Linked DNA regions of Homo sapiens: region 1 is linked to region 2. The links are contacts of gene promoters, found by promoter capture Hi-C in human tissues and cell types (Jung and others, 2019). All regions are on one chromosome and are shown on one strand. The core of a region is centred on a gene start or on the middle of the fragment in contact, and the rest is flanking DNA. Distances in the headings are between cores, read along the strand shown.

Region 1 (2,759 bases), core at 164-2,663, 1.7 Mb after region 2:
TTGTATTATTATTATTTTGAGACGGAGTCTTGCTCTTGTCACCCAAGCTGCAGTGCAGTTACATGATCTCTTCTCACTGCAACCTCCCTCTCCCAAGTTCAAGTAATTTTCCTGCCTCAGTCTCCGAGTAGCTGGGAGTACAGGCGCCCGCCACCACGCCCGGGTAATTTTTGTATTTTTAGTAGAGACATGATTTCGCCACGTTGGCCAGGCTGGTCTCAAATTCCTGCCCTCAAGTGATCCGCCCGCCTCGGCCTCCCAAAGTGTTGGGATTACAGGCGTGAGCCACCGTGCCGAGTCTGAAACATATTTTAATTATGTTTCTCCAGTATTTTTTTTTTCTTAAAATTTTCTTTTTTTTTTTTGAAGACAGAGTCTTGCTCTGTCGCCCAGGCTGGAGTGCAGACGCGATCTCAGCTCACTACAACCTCCGCCTCCCGGGCTCAGCCTCCGGAGTAGCTGGGACTACAGGCGTGCGCCACCACGCTTGGCTAATTTTTTTTTTTTTTTGTATTTTTAGTAGAGTCGGGGTTTCAACACGTTGGCCAGGCTGGTCTCAAATTCCTGCCCTCAAGTGATCCGCCCGCCTCGGCCTCCCAAAGTGATGGGATTACAGGCGTGCGCCAGCGCGCCGGCCTTCTCCAGTATTTTTGCATGCATCTTACGGCACACCTTTGCACGCCATCTTATTAACTATATCATACTGCCGCACGTGCCTTTTCGGCCAAGGCATCCAGATGGTGCGGGTCCTGCCTGCCTCGAGAGGTGGCAGCAAAGGAGCCAGTGCCCTCACTGGTGCTGGGCGGGGCGGCCGCTTTCCTCGGAGGGAAGGGGCGGCGTTGGCGGGGGAAGGGCGCCAGGGCCCAGGCCCTGAGGGAGGGGCAGCTCGCCCGGGCCACGCGGTGCCGGCCCTCGGCTCAGGCCGGGCTGAGGCCCCGGGGGCTCGGGGTCCGGGGGAAAGGCGCTGAGCCAGACAGGTCCCAAGGAGCCTTCGGGAAGGGAGGGCCTCGTGGCGGCCTGTCCGGGACCCGGCCGGGAGCAGGGGTCGCGTGGGCGCCGTCAGGACGGGCGTGAGGTCCCCGGGACCACGTGTTTGCGTTTGGTGGCCCAGGGGTCGCTGACAGGTGCGGAGGGGAGACGCCCACCTGGGTGCCCTGGGCCGCACGCCGGGCGGTGGGGCCGGGAACCCCTGCTCCTCCTCGGCCTCCGATCCGCTGCGGCCCTGGGTCCTGCTCGCTGCCCGACGCCGCTGCCACAACCTCCGCCCGGGCCCCGCAGCCCGCCGCCCGCCGGAAGCTGAAAGGCGTGTCCGACCCCGCCCCCGGGCGCGACCAATCAGCGCGCGCGACTCATGAATAGTGAGCGCGCTGGCACCGCCCCGCCCCCGCCTCCCGCGGCACCGCCCGCCCGCGCAGACCCCGAGCGCGGCCGCGGACGAAGATGGCGACCGCCATGTACTTGGAGCACTATCTGGACAGTAAGCGCGCCCCACGGGCCCCGCGCCCGCCGCCCACGCGGAGTCCTCCGTGCCGCAGCCCCCCGCGCGCCGGGCACCGCATGCAGACCCCGTGGGCTCGGGAGGGCGGCGGGCGCGGCCGGGCGCGACGGGGGGCGCGCGGACGGGGCGGGGCAGGGCCGCAAGGGAGGGGAGGGCGCGGGGGGCGGGCGCGGGGGGTCCCGCCGGCTGGGTCGCGCCAATTCCAGGTGCGTCACGGCGGGGCGGGGCCTGGCGATGCTGGGCGGGGCTTGCGGCCTCGACCCCGCCCACATATTAGGTCCCGCCCCTACCCAGGCCCCGCCTCATCTCCGCCCCCAGCTCCGGCCCCGGCCCCGCCAGGTCCCGCCCGTCCCTGTCCCGTCTGCAGGAGGAGCTGGCGCCCGCTGCGGGGCTCCGGGCCTTGGGGGCTCCGGGGTCTGGGCCTCCGCCTGGCTGTGCGCCCGTGTGCGCCGGCCTCTTGTGTGACCGCGGCTGGGGAGGGCGTGCGGGCCGCGGGGCGTCTCTCCCCGGCACTGGGGACTGCGGCGCGGAGGCGGGGAGGGCGGTGCCGAGTCGGCCCTGGTGGGCGGGCTGTGCTGTTTCCAGGTGGCAGCAGGTCGGCGCCCCCAGCGGCTGAGCGGACGGTGCTTTCCCTCACTTTACACACCAGGGAAGGTCCAGCGCTGCCGAGCAGCCTGCTCAGGGTCTCCCGCTCGTAGAGGGGCAGACCCCACGCGGGACCCCTGACGTCGGCCCGGGATGGGCACAGCTTTGGGGTCGCGGTGTTTGGGGTTGTGCCGGGTGGCTCTGGAGGGCCCTTGTGGGGGCGCTGCACTGGGGATCCTCATGGTCTTCGGCCTGGCACCCGCCCAGGGGCTGAGACAGTGGCGAGTGAGCCGTGGCCTGGAGCTGGAGACCGCTGCCCTAGAGGGACGCCCGATTCTGCCCATGTGCTCCGCTGTCTCTTGGGGGTCTGAGTAGTGGGGGGTTCCCTGGGTAGAAGAGTCAAGCTGGGGAGCACGCTGGAGGGGAGGCCTTCTCTATCCTGGTGCCCAGCCAGTGGGCTGGCCTCCCAAGGAGGGTTGACTTTGTGTGTGTCTGGGAGGCTGTGCCAGCCGGGAGGCTGTGCCTCTGTCCTCTAGGGGAGCTGGGAAAACACTGGGGCTGGAAGCATCAGATGCATAAGATAGAGTTAGGTTTAAAATGATTGCCTGGTAACTGTGAACAGCAGATGGGAGGGTGGCCAAGACTGGAGGAGGCAGCCCCCCTTAGGAGCCTGTGT
Region 2 (2,721 bases), core at 163-2,662:
TATTATACAGTATAAATGTATTATTTATTATGAATATTGGATAGCAATGAGAATGCATGAATTATTGTTACATGCAAAAACATCAAGGATTCACTCAAGCAACACGGTGAATGAAAGAAGCTGAACATAACAGGGCACATACTTTATGTGTAAGCCCCTCAGAAACACCAATGCTAGCATCTGGTTTTGGAAGTCAGGACAGTGCTTTTTGTGGAGAAGGGTTAATGACTGGGAGAGGGCGTGAAGGCAGCTTCTAGTTCTTGATCTGGGAGCTGGTTCCATGAGCACAGTCCTTTTGTGAAAACATATGCAGACGAAGGCTTGTTACTTGTGCACAGTTGTGTAGGTTTGTTAAATTTCACTTAGTTCTGTAGGTTTGTTAAATTTAACTTAAAAATTAATTTAAAGAGCACAAAGTGCCACATACAATGTTGTTTCATCACTACAGATTTTACTCTAGGACATTTAGTTGTCTTAGTGTGAAGTTTGACCCAAGCCCAAGGCCTTTTTCAAGGCGTCCTTAAATTCCTTGTTCCTCAGGCAGTAAATCAAAGGGTTAATTATTGGCGTGACAACAGTGTACACGGCAGAGATGAGCTTGTTGGAGCTCTGGGAATCAATGGCTTGGGGCCGGACATACATGAAAAGCAAGGCTGTATAGAAGACGGTGACCACGGTGAGGTGAGAGGCGCAGGTAGAGAAGGCTCTCCAGCAGCCGGTGGCCGAGGGGATGCGCAGGACAGCCAGGGTGATGTGCCAATATGACAGTATGGTGGCCAGGAGCGGAAACACCAGGATGATGAAGGCCAGGATGAAATCCACCAGCTCTGCAGTGGAGAAGTCCGTGCAGGCCAGCTTGAGGATGGGGGAAATGTCACAGAAGAAGTGGTTCAAGACGTTGGAGCCACAGAACGTGACGCTGGAGATAAAACAGACCTTGATCATGGAGATGGTGAAGCCACTCACAAAGGAGAAGCCCACCAGCTGGAGGCACAGCCCCGGGGTCACAAGGACGTGGTAGCGCAGCGGGTGGCAGATGGCCACGTAGCGGTCGTAGGCCATGGAGGCCAGAAGCACACACTCGGTGCACACCAGGGAGCTGAAGAAGTAGAGCTGCGTCATGCACCCGACGAAAGAGATGCGTTTCTGCTGGAGGAGGAAGCCCTCCAGCATCTTGGGGGTGATGTCAGACACGTACCAGATCTCCAGGAAAGACATGGAGCTCAGAAAGTAGTACATGGGCCTGTGGAGGGAGGTGCTGCTCCAGACGATGAGGATGATGGCCAGGTTCTCCACCAGGACAAAGAGGTAGGTGAGCAGGAAGAGGAGGAAGAGCAGGTACTGCAGCCCTGGGGCCGTGGGGAGGCCCACCAGGATGAAGGTGCTGACCTTGGTGACATTCTCCCCACTCATGCCTCTGTGCTTGGGAGCTGCAGGCCTACAAAACATCAAAGAGCAAGAGGAAAGGGCTGCAGGGCAGCTGAGGCAGAGAGAGAGTGGAGCTGGACTTGGATGGGGAGTTTTGGTGCAAAGAGAGGCCACGTGGCTCCCCAGAGCACCAGGAGAGAGCAGTGATCTGCTGATCTTCTGAGTTTTAAAGTAGAAAACTTCTGTGTGCTTGCATTTACATATAACCATGAAGTAGGAATGAGGAAGAGAGTATATGCTGAGGAACAGAGCCGGGCAGCTCCAGGGTGGGCAAAACCCAAAGCTCTGAGTCCAGGGGCACTACCAGTCCACACGTGCCTGGGGCAGCTCTCAAGATCCAAGTGGGCATGGACACAGAGCTGGCCCTCCTTAGGGTCCTTCATCTGAGGGTTCCTGCAAGTCGGGGCAGCAGCCTCGGCATGAGGTGAGGGGCTATCAGCCTACCAGGGCAGAACCCCAAACTGGGCTAACCAGCCGGAGGAATGCAGGGAGGGCTCCCAGGAAAGGGCTGCCTGGCTCTGGGGGACCTGGTCCACAGGTGGGGGAGAGAGAGGGTAGCCACAGCCCCTTGCCCCACAGGGCATCTGGTGGTTCTTTTCATTGGCAGTCTAGGTGGGTTGAATGGCAGACTTCCACCAGCTCACAGCTGGGGAGGGTGACCCCAGGTTTCTGGCCCAGGATGCTAAAAATTGATGAGAAGACTAGGAGAGGGCCAGGTGGGTGCCGAATAATCTGGAGTCTGTGCTGGGGAGGCGTGGTGCGCGGCACTTACTGGAGAGCCTCATGGTGACGTGTAGGGGGTTGGCTAGACAAGTCGAGTTCATGGAAGAGTTGCAGGCTGAAAAACAAACTTCTAGAAGGGAATTGCCCAGGGACAGGTTTACACTTGGAAACGCACCTGTACTCCTGCCGTCTAGGGTGAGCATTCTGTGGGAACCCAAGATCATCCACTGGGGCGGCATGGCCATTCCCTGCCTTAAAATGCCAGCGTGCAGTTCAGAGTTTAGGATCAATTTCACAAGCATTTACTACTCACTCCAGTCACCGCCTACTGTCTCCCCAAAACAAAAGCAATAAGAACCCCTGCCATTAAAGGGGTCTCAAGATGTGAGTCTGAATGTAGCCTCTCTAGACACCATCCAGGGTGGTGACTGTGTCCTCTTCCCAGCTGAGTGGCCACAGGGGGCTTTAAAGTCCACAAGGAGGAAAGTTGGGGTCCACAGGAGCTCCTTGGAAGGCCAGCAGCCCCCACCTGTTGACTGGGTTTGCTGGGGAGAGCTGGCGGTGGGGGTA

The links. The method cuts DNA at HindIII sites, captures the fragments that hold promoters and counts their contacts. A contact is called where the count stands out against the background at its distance.
Region 1: a contact is called between the fragment with the promoter of ING5 here and the fragment with the promoter of OR6B2 in region 2, in 1 of the 25 tissues and cell types used here (bladder).

What each region holds. Positions count from the first base shown.
Region 1 is chr2:241,700,626-241,703,384 of GRCh38, forward strand. It overlaps ING5 (inhibitor of growth family member 5), which reads left to right and starts at 1,414. Exons shown (of 8, transcript NM_032329.6): 1 at 1,414-1,477. The coding sequence starts at 1,441. RefSeq lists silencers at 708-1,527, 1,270-1,433, 1,618-2,177 and enhancers at 832-1,664, 1,903-2,532. The HindIII fragment of the contact is 25,906 bases long and covers 1-2,759 here.
Region 2 is chr2:240,029,017-240,031,737 of GRCh38, forward strand. It overlaps OR6B2 (olfactory receptor family 6 subfamily B member 2), which reads right to left and starts at 1,413. Exons shown (of 1, transcript NM_001005853.1): 1 at 475-1,413. The coding sequence starts at 1,413. The coding sequence ends at 475. The HindIII fragment of the contact is 5,539 bases long and covers 490-2,721 here.